2 separate regions of the Homo sapiens genome follow, and region 1 is linked to region 2. Evidence: promoter capture Hi-C in human tissues and cell types (Jung and others, 2019). All regions are on one chromosome and are shown on one strand. The core of a region is centred on a gene start or on the middle of the fragment in contact, and the rest is flanking DNA. Distances in the headings are between cores, read along the strand shown.

What was found. The method cuts DNA at HindIII sites, captures the fragments that hold promoters and counts their contacts. A contact is called where the count stands out against the background at its distance.
Region 1: a fragment that was not itself captured here is called in contact with the fragment with the promoter of NDRG1 in region 2 in 1 of the 25 tissues and cell types used here (dorsolateral prefrontal cortex).

The regions. Positions count from the first base shown.
Region 1 is chr8:134,727,218-134,732,830 of GRCh38, forward strand. It overlaps a transcript of ZFAT not described here. Among named protein-coding and RNA genes, the nearest start is that of ZFAT, 17 kb to the left of the region's middle. The HindIII fragment of the contact is 3,544 bases long and covers 1,057-4,600 here.
Region 2 is chr8:133,293,870-133,299,206 of GRCh38, forward strand. It overlaps NDRG1 (N-myc downstream regulated 1), which reads right to left and starts at 3,383. Exons shown (of 16, transcript NM_006096.4): 1 at 3,265-3,383. RefSeq lists an enhancer at 1-1,067 and a silencer at 3,264-3,713. The HindIII fragment of the contact is 13,971 bases long and covers 1-5,337 here.

The DNA.
Region 1 (5,613 bases), core at 1,579-4,078, 1.4 Mb after region 2:
CAGGAAAGGTCTCTGCAAGTAGGCGACATTTGAGCTGAAACCTGAGTGATAAGAAGGAGCCAGGCTGGTGGACACCTGAGAGAAAAGTGATCTAGATGGAGGAAGTGGCTGGTGCAAAGGTCCTGAGGTCAGGACACTGCTGTGTTTGAGGAGAAGAACGGCTGTGGGGCAAGTTCATTCGTAGGCAGAGGAAAGGGTCCTGTCACTGCGCTGTCTCCTCTATCTGCCTTTCTCTCTCTCTGATCATTGAAGACCCTGTCTCTCCTCCTCTCATGGAACTGCCCTTTTGGGATTTCTACAAACTCTGAAGTATAAAACCAAATTTTAAAACATACTGCAAATTATAATGCTTTTTAAAGTACCACCTATTTTACACGTCAAGCCAGTTTTGTGACTTCAAAATGAATAGGGCTTTTTTTTGAGAAGTCACGAGATGAGAAACTAAGGCTATCCATCTATGTTAGGGGCGGGGAATCTTTTTCTGTAAAGGGCCAGATAGTAAATATTTTCAGTTTTGCAGGTCGCAGGGTGTCTACTGAAGCTACTCCACTCTGCCCCATGAAAGCAGCCAAAGGGAATGTAAATAAAACCCTGTGGCTGTGTGCCAATAAAAGTTTATTTACAGAACCAAGTAGGAAGTGAGATTTGCCCCCTAGGTTATAGTTTGCCAATCCCTAATCTACTTATCATAATGATAAATATCATTATCAAAAATACATTTCTTGTTCTTTTAGCATTAGCTATGGGCCAAGCAAACAGGCCACTTTTGGGTGCTCCTGTCTCCTGGTACTGAGCAGACATGCTGTACCAGGTACAATGTGAGTAATGAGCAGAGGAGTACCTGAAATCTATAATACCTCACCTGGATATACTACCAGTGGTGCAATTCTATTTTTAAAAACTTGAGATTCCAATATTAAATTTTTTAACTTTATGGAATATTTTTCCTAAGGCCAAGCTTAAGCCAGTTGACTCTTCACAACTGACTGGTCTCGGTGGCTATTGGCAGCCTTCCATGATCACAGGGAGGAAGGTGAGGGCCTGAAAGACCCCGCTGGCAATCTCTGCTAGGTAGCATGTACAGGGAAGGCAGACTTCAAATGGAATTGTGCAAAATATTTCTACGCAAGCAGATATAGAAACAGGCATGCAAGCTTTTCCTAAAAGTCTGTGAGGCCCTGCTTTGTGCCCTTCAGACTATCTAGTAAATCATGAAAGGTTCATGTGAAGCAGATACACCAATAATTCAGCAGTAGGGTTTAGCTAATCTTCTTAGCAATCTTAGAGGGACTGGCTGGAAAATCCCCAGCTGCAAGTCCAGGGCACCACTCTGGAGGGTGTGAGCATGCTGGGCTCAGCGGGCTCCTGCATCCATCCACACCAGGACAGGTGTGCCTGCAAAGATGCACATCCAACCCCAGATCCTAAACCATGTTTACTACTGGTGAAAAATTAGCCAAGGATCTAATCAAAAGTTTTGATAACTTATAGCAGCACTCCTGAAGTTTGCATTTCTGAGCAAGGCTTCTAAATGTTAAAATTGCAGAGTCTATATTAAAATCAGTTTGCACACACGTATATAAGAATGTTTATGCTAAAACATTTTAAAGTAAATTATGCATTACATAACATATCTCTCTCCTCTTATAGTAAATTTTTGATGCTTTGGAGAGTTCATTCCTTTTTTTCCAGTTACTCATTCTGGATTTTTTTTAATGGAAAGTGAAAGAAAATATATGACTTTTTATTTTCAATTTTGAAATTGTGGCAATATACTATACACTAATTGTCACATTCAAAAGTTTAAAATAATCCTTAAATATTCTTAGGAGAATTATACTATCAGGAAAGAATGCATATCTTTTCCAACTAATAGCTTCATCTCTAACTAATACCTTTGTAAAGAACGCTGGCCTGTAATTTATAGACATGACCCCTGAATGGCAGAGTCACCATGCCCGACCAGGATGATTTTTTACATCACTCTTAACACTACAATTTACTTTAGTAAACTCTGTGACCCTGGGACCCTCATTCCCAGGCTCCTCTGTAAAATTGGGAGATGGCTGGATTTGGGCTGCCCCTGGGATTTCATCCACCTCGCCATTCTTTTTTTGTTTTGTTTTGTTTTTGAGACGGAGTCTCGCTCTATCACCCAGGCTGGAGTGCAGTGGCGTGATCTCAGCTCACTGCAAGCTCTGCCTCCCAGGTTCATGCCATTCTCCTGCCTCAGCCTCCCAAGTAGCTGGGACTACAGGCGCCTGCCACCACGCCCAGCTAATTTTTTTTGTATTTTTAGTAGAGATGGGGTTTCACCGTGTTAGCCAGGATGGTCTCGATCTCCTGACCTTGTGATCCACCCACCTCGGCCTCACCTCACCATTCTACCACCAGAGTTGGCCAAGCTGTCAGGCCCCGCTTCTGACTGCCACTGAGGACTTTCTTCCCAAATGCAGCTCCCTGTTACTACACCTGAATAGCATCGTCCTTATAAGCAATGCCTCTGAAGCTTGACTGCTTGAGTTTGTAATCCTGATGGGCTGGTTACCCTCACAAGCTTGGGTCCTGGGCATATTCTAAAACTTTGTATGTCTTGGTTTCCCCGTTTGTAAAACAAAACTTAAGAGTATCCACTCCATGGGCTTGTCCTGACGCTTACATGAATTAATACACAATAACTGGATTTTTCTTTTGCAATATTCAAAGCTGTGCTCCTATTAGATTCAGTGGAATCTGGCTTCTTGCAAACCTGACCAATATTTTCATTTTCTCCTCCCTGTCTTTGCATTTTGACAGTGTTTGGGTCAGTTAGATTAGGCTGTTGTCTGCCTGCCATCTGGATTTGGTGACCTGGCCTTTGGTTGTTACGCGCTGCTCCCACTTGTGTCAGGGAGAAAGCAGAAGAGAAGTCTGGCCCGGGAATTTCTTGCTACAAAGGAAGTTCTGGGAATACTGAGGGTGAAGCCTGCACTCTCCTCATCTCCAGAGGGAGCAATGCCCCGGGCCCAATGCCCCCAGTGACAAGGCAAAGGCCCAACGTACTCCTCCCTTGCCTAGCTAGCCAGCTACCCTGCAGCTTGCAGTTATCTGCATCAACCTCGACATCTCCCATGACTCTCGCCTTTTAAAGGTGCACGTGGCACAGTTACAGCCTCCCTTGGATGCTACAGAGTTGCCCAGGCACACAGTCCACTTCCCCACTCCCCCTTCCTGCCAGAGATGAATTTGTCACAAGAGAGACCTTTATCAGTCCCATCATCCTGGATTCCTAGGGCAGCACGTGGAACATCCTCCGTGTTCAGGAACAATTTGTTAGAGGAGAAGATGAATAAATAAACGTCTCCATTCTCTACTGTCAGCAGGTGGCCAGTAGACATTAACAGTAGCATTTTGGTGTGATCCCCTGTTTAAAGATGTGTGCGGACATCTCTTCAAGGGTCCCCATGACAACATTTCACACAAATTATTGGAGTTCAAATGACTAAAGATCCTTTCATTGAACTCCCTCAGTTTACAGATGGGGGACCTGAAGCCCAGAGAAACTAAACATATTCATCAAGCAGCCAGGATGACGAAGGCATGCAAATTCATGTCTTTTGAGCAACTTTAAAGAAGCTAGAAATATTCTGGTTTCTTTTCCTGGGGAAGATAGCATTCCGTGGGAATATGAGCACTGATTTTTTGAACATCTGAAGGGCTACTATATGAAGAAAAGCTCCTAAGAGATCAGAAGTATCCAAAGATGAAACGGTTGCCCCTTGAGGCCATGAATGCTCTATTGCCGGAGGTGTCCAAGCACAAACAGAAATAGCTTAGAGAGAGGAGAAGCATCAAAGTCGGGGGCAGAAAAAATGTCTGAAATGATAAACACAGACAATAGCAAGTGTCAGAAGGATATGGAGCAAGGGGAACCCTCAGACACTGCATGTGGGAGAGGTAATGGTGCAACCACTTTGGAAAACTAGCAGTTTTTAATAAGGTTAAACTTACATCTTCCCTGTGTTCCAACAATTCCACTCCTAGGAATGGACTCAACAGAAACACATATGTATTTTTCGCCAAACACATATATGAGAACTTCATAGCAGGTTACTCATAATAGCCCCAAGTGAGAAACTACCCAATCTACTGCTCATTGACAGTAAAATGTATAAATAAATGTTAGTATATTCACACAATGGAATATTATACAGAAATCAGGAGACTTTTTCTGTAAAGGGCCAGATAGTATTTTCAGCTTTGCAGGCCATATGGCCTACATCTCAACCACTCAGTTCTGTCATTGTAGTGCAAAAGCAGCCATAGACATAGACATATACAGAAATAAATGGGCATGGCTGTGTTTCAAAAAAACCTTAATTTACAAAAGCAGATGGAATACACAGTGTGCTCAGTTTTTGAAAATTCATTAAGGTGCACAGCTATGGTATGTGTACTTTCTGAATGTATATAAAAAGGTTTTCAATTTTTTAAAAAGGGTTTTCAATAACAAGTTTAAAAAGAAATAGGGGCAGGGCAGTTATTGGCCTGTGTGTCTATGATTCAGCGGCTAGTCCCAGATAAAACAGTTAGATAATAGCAAAACTGGAACTGAAATTCAGGCCTCTGGCTCCCAGAAAGGAAAGGGAATTCATACCTATGAGTGTTTCCAGTGTGCAATGCACTTGTCACAGTCATTCCTCATAATAACTCTCAGAGAAGGCATTATTATGCTTATTTTTGTAGATGAGAAAACAGGGGCCCAGAGTGGGTACAAACTTAGCCAGGATCATACATCTTATCTGGAGCAGCAATGCCACCTGAGCCCAGCTCTGTCTGATCCTGACCCCAGGCTCTTAGGTTTCCTCCACAGGCTTTAAATGCAAACATGGCATTTCCTACATGAGCATTGCATGTGTATAAAAATAAACTGTGAGCCCCACACTATGAAATATTATCCGGTTATCACTGGCTTCTGCTGCTGACAGCCAGGGCTGCTAAATCTTATGAGGCTGTGCCCGCTGCTTCTGGGTAAGCCCTGACCATGGGCACAGCTGGGACATAGGCCCGCTCTGCAGGTTTTTTACTGTGGCTTTCCTCACTGAAGCAAGCATAGTGGGATGAGGGGAGAGGGAGAAGCAAGGGCAGACAAGATGCTGGATGATGCAGGTTCTGCAGCCAGGGGAGACCAGAAGGCAGGCAGACTGATGAGGAAGGGGCTTGTCACAAGGGGCCAGTCCAAAAGGGAAACTAAGACCATTCTCCTATCAGGAGCCACTTGCCCCTCCTGTCCGACTCTACTTCTGAGATTCTCTCCCTCACCCTCAACAACCCCTGCTCCCAGTACCAGCTGTAGAAAGAAAGAGAAAGGTACCTACTCATCCAACTCAGAAAATGGGGTAGGGTGAAGTTCTACTTTTGAATGTCTTGTGACAATTTCCATTAGTTCTCAATAGTTAAAAATTAGGAGCGTTTCAGAAAGGAATGCATATACCCAGTGAAAGATGCCAGTCTGAAAAGGCTACATACTTTACGTTTCCAGCAACATCACATTCCGGGTAAAGCACAACTATAGAGACAGTAAAAAGATCAGGGGCTGCCAGGGGCTGGTGTGAGGAGTGGAGAGGAATGGGC
Region 2 (5,337 bases), core at 2,133-4,632:
AAGCAATACCTAGGTCAAGCATTTGCAGGCACTTTCACAGCCTTGGGTAGGTTTAGGACAAAGGGTCCCAGACTCTGCCTGCCAAGAAGATGCCTTGAGAATGTCTTCTGCGGGTGCTACTGACGGCAAACACCTACACGCTGTTTTCCACATGCTCAGTGCTGTTCTCAGGTTACACAGATTAATATTTACACATTCTGATGGCATCATGTCTGTTACTCTCATTTTACAGAAAAGCAAACTGAGGCATGGAGCTCCTGACTGCCTTTTCATTTGAGCCTGATTTCTTCAGGCGCCCCAACATGTTGTCATGGAAAAAAAACAAAGGCTCTGAAGTCCAACTGTCCGGGTTCAAAGTCTGGCTCTCCCACCTGAGCCATATGGCAACAGGCAAATCCTGAAACTCTCCTGGCCTCAGTTGCCTCATCCATTCAATGGAGCAATACGATCCAGGCAACGTTCTTGCGAGGATGAAGGCAGATGGAGGGAGACAGTGGCTGCTCTGGAGGGAGAGAGATGTCGTGTCCCTCCCTGGCCTTCCTTCCAGGCTGAGTCAAACCTGAACCCTGCTTGAGTCTCAGATGCTGAGTCATCACGCTTTCTCTCCCAGGACAAGGCCTCTGAGTCACATCTGGAATGGGATTCTCTGGGGTTGGGTCCCAAGGAAGAACTGCAGCTTTGGGCCACCCGAAAAACACAATGCTATCTTTCTTTCAGGTCCATGAGGAGGCAAGTTCAGGCCAGCGGATTTCAACGTAACCCAGGGGGGCCCTCAGCTCAGTTGAGATCTGTCTTCTGTCATGGGGGGGGGGCAGCCCCATTCAGTCAAAGGCCAACTCAGGGGGCTGCAGCCTCTAAGCCCCTGCCCTTCAGGCTGGCTTTGCTAATCTCTCAAGAACACCTGATTTACACTTAAAAAAAATCATTCCGCTCTGCCCCTTTGGCCTCAAAAGTTTCCTCACCAGAAATTCAATGAAGATGCAATTTCCTTTCGCCCCTCCATAGCAGGCAGGCAAAATCCTGCCAGGAACCCTTTCCACTGCCTTCAGTCCCACCCAGGAGCCTCTCACAAAGCTGAGCTCCAGCTCAGTTCGGCCTGGGCACATCCCTCCCCATCCCTGTGCCTCATTTTCCATCTGTAAAATGGAAAGAAGTTGGACTAGGTAGGTCCTGTGTGAGTTTTTTATTCCATTCCAAATGATCAAACTTTGTTGCTCCAAAAGAACTTCCTCACAAGAGACCCAAACAGACACTCCAGGATCCCTCAAAAGCAAAAGCCAACACCTCCACCCATGCACAGTCTATTACCTCGCCCGAAACTCAACCTGCTGGTTCACAGGAGAATGGGGCAGAAGACCCAGAGCCATCCACTTCATCCCATGTGCATATTTCAACTCCTCCCACCTGCCAGGCGCTGGGCCAGGGGCCAGGTTACAGGGCAGGGCAGGCAAATCCTCCTCCTTGCCCAGATGCAGTGGGAGACACGGTCCCACAAAGCTAAGAAGTCACAGGTCAGGGGAACACCCAGTTTTCCATCCACACCAAAACCCTCTCTCTCCCTTACACCTTCCTTCATCCCCGACACTGTGCCACCCCAGCCTGGGGCTGGCTCTGCCGCCACACACACCACACAGAACCGGTCTGCGTCTCCAGCCGTGTGTCTTCCCCACCAGAAGGCAGCCCTTCCAAGAAAGGCGCTGGGGTTTGCCCCCTCTGTACCTTGCTTATTTCAATCACATTTGTGAAACTCAATAAGAACGCCAGAATTTCTCAACAGGAAGAGTCTAGACTGAAAAATTCGCCTTGAAACTACATTTCTGCAGCAAGAACAGGGGGTTTGTATTTAGATATGTTCTTTTGAGGCAGCTTAGGAGAAGGTCCCGTGCAGCTGATGGGTATTATAAGGATGTCTACCGCCCTCCTGCCTGGCCACTGGCTGACTTCTGAATATTAGATATTTCCCAGTAGCTTAAAGAAACCAAACAAACTGAAGTGCCCCCAGCGTCCGTGAGGAAGGGGTGTTCTTGGATGGGCATAAGATAACCAAGGGCCCTGCCTCCCCCACCCACTGCCAGGCATCTCCCACTTCCAAGCCACAGAGGCGTGCTGTTCAGGACCCCCAGGGACAGCAGGGACAACAGGCGGGGGATATGGGGGAGGGGTGGGTAAGGAACCGACCCACTAAATCCCAGCTCCAGCTACTAATTTGACAGAGGCGTGACAGCGTGTTTCCCCCAGAACCAGCCGCATTCCCCAAGCCCAGCCCGAAATCTCCTCCCGAGGCTGAATCAGAGACCGCGGCGGATCCCCCAGGAACGTCGAAGTAATTCCAGCTGTTTTCCCCCGTGGAGGGCAGGAGCGGCCAGCACCAGAGGCAGGGGAGGGGAGGAAAGCGGGGGAGGGTGGGCGGAGGCGAAAATGACGCCACTCCTAGCTCCAGCCAGCTCAAGGGGCCGCCAAATGTCCGCGAGACCCCTCTCGCCCAGGTCACTTCTCCCACGCCGCCGATGCGCCAATCCCGGGTTCCTCCGGGGGCGCACCCTGCCCAGTGGCGCTCGCAGACACTTGCTCCGGCTCGCGTGTTGCACTGTGACACACCCTGGACCCTCCCCCCACACACACGCTTACACTCACACATGCACACCGCCCTGTGTGTGCTACGGGACTGAAGCGCCACCAGCCTCTCGGATCCACACCCGTTCCCGACCCAGTCTGCAAGCCAGACACACCCACGCCCCCCTCTCCAGCCTCCTTGCCAGCGCCACTCACCTCTACCAACCCCTCATCTACACACTCGCGCGCAATCTCTCCGTTCCCAGACACAGACACACACACACACACACACACACACACACACACACACTCACCTAGTCCCTTCTGCACCCACGTCCAGCGCGCACCCCTGCCAGCGGCGCCAGCTGGGATTCGGAGACGACGCCAGGAAACGCTATCCTGGTATTTTTTCGGACCGTCTCATCGCCCCCTTCCCGACCTCCAGAACCCCAATCCCCAGCTAGGGGGGAGATGAATGGGACCCTGTCTTTTTTTCCTCCCTTTCCGTAATTGAACCCCCCACTTCAGCGGTGTCTGCACCCAAAGCCCCCTCGCGCCCGCGCCCCGGGGTGACCGCGCACTTGCAGCTCCGGGGCGCTTACTCCTGGAGTACGCGGGGCTACAAAGGGCGGTCCTGGCGCTCCAGCGGCACCGCACGGGCGGCCCCTTTCTGCTCCGCGTCGCGCCTGGGAGAAGAGGGCGCGGGCTTACCTAACGCGAGGGAGAAAGGAAAGGACGGTGCCGAGGCTGGCGGCCCAGCGCCCCGCGGAAGCCGAGGGCGGATGGTGAACTGACGAGCTTCAGCACCAGCTGGGAGCCAGGCGAGGTTTGTTTACGTCCGGGCGGAGGGCGACTTTATAGGCGCCGCGGCCCCGCCCCCGCGCCTCGCCCCTCCCAGACCCTCGCAGTCCCAGCACGCAGCCGGGACACACCCCTTCCCCGCTCCCTGCTCCCTCCTCCCGGGCGCGCCGGGCTGGGCTGGGCTCCGGCAGCGCGCGGCGGGCGCCCACTGGAGCCGCCGCCTGTTGCGCAAGCAGTCGTAGGGGCGCGGCCGGGAGGGGCATCGGGGCCCGGGTTGTGGGTCGGCTCTGCAGTCCCCTCCGAGTCCAGGGCCTCGGCCTGTGCAGCGGGCGCGTGTGCCCTGCCCGGAGGAGGCGTTTGTGTGCTTGTGCGTGTTCATGTGCGCGCTCGTGCGTGTGCATGTGGACTTCCTTGTGTCTCCGTATGGGCGGAGGCCCCCCATCTCTGCCTCAGAGTTTCTTCTAAGAGTCTCGTTGCGCCACGCCCTGAGCGACTCCCTTCACTTCCTGTAGGTCTCACCAGCTCGGCTCTCCAGCCGGATTCGGCTGCCTGCCCAGCAGCCGCCTTCGCTTTCGCCCGACAGGCTCCCTCCGATTCTCAGCCTTCCGTGTCGCCAAAGCTCTCGCTGAAATCCTCGCTCCCGTTTAATCTCGTCCATCTTGCCCACCGCCGCCCAGCGCTTACCCTTCCCCTCATCTTCCCAGTTCTAAGCACACTCACTGGACCTTGCCCACTGGGCTCTTCTCTCCTGCCCCACAAGCCCAGATGAGAGGATTCTCACCCCTTCCTATTCTGATTTCCTGAACTTTCATGACTCACCCTTTCCAACCTTAGCACCGTCCTGCTCTGCTGCTCTGTTTGTGCGTAACTATTGGCCTGCATGTTCCCATCTGGCCAAAGAAACCAGCAATTCTCAACCCCTACTGCATATGAGAAGTCCCAGAGGAGCCGCCAAATTAAAAAATAAATAAATAGATAGATAATAAAAAGAGAGAGATGGACTCCAGAACAGTTTAATCAGAATCTCAGGGGGTGCAAACCAACTGGGCATTGGGGTTTTTACAAAGCTACCCAGGTGGCTCCTGACGTGCAGCCAGGTTGAGAAGCACTGCATGGAGGAACATGATTTTATGAATAAAGGAAGTCTGACTCACAGCTGGCACCGTCATTGTCCTCAGGCCACCTGCCCAGCGTTGAATTTGCCACTGAGCCCAGGACCAGACCCAGGGCAAGCTCAGGTGACCCTCCCTGCGCCTCCACAGACACACACGCGCGCACGCACAACACTTCCTGCTGAATTGTAAACCTCTTTTCTGTGCCAACCCATGCTGTCCCCAAGGCAGGGGCCATGGCTTTCCCCTCTGATTATTAGGGCCAGTTTTGGAGAAGGGTTTTCTGGAACAAAAGAAATATGGAGAGGGGCAAACAGCACCTCTAGGACCCAGGACATCTGTGTTTCAGGCCTGTCTTTGACACTATCGATCACAAATCAACAAATCTGGGCTTCAGAATTCTCACTGGCAAAGGGAGAGGATTAGATTCAATGATCTTTCAGAACCTATCTAGTGCTAAAGCTCTGTTATTCTATTACAAATGACCAGTGTGAAGAACAGAGTTCCAGTGTCATGGGTTTTGCTGCTAGAAGAGTTTGGCTAAACTACAAAGTTTGGCTATTAGCTATGAAGTTTGGCTAAACTACAAAGTTTGGCTACATTCAAGAATGCCTTGAATGTAGGAGCACATTCCCCCACCCTAGAAAATTTAACATCTAGAATTAATAAGTGAATGAATGACCACTGGGCAGTCTTCCATTCTTTATGGATTTGAACTAGTTCAACTGCAGCATTCCCAGTGAGGGAAAATTTTTCTTATTTCAAATAAAATGTTGTGTCCAGGTAGAGTGGCTTACACCTGTAATCCCAGCACTTTGGGAGGCCAATGCAGAAGCCTCTCTTGAGTCCAGGAGTTTGAGACCAGCCTTCA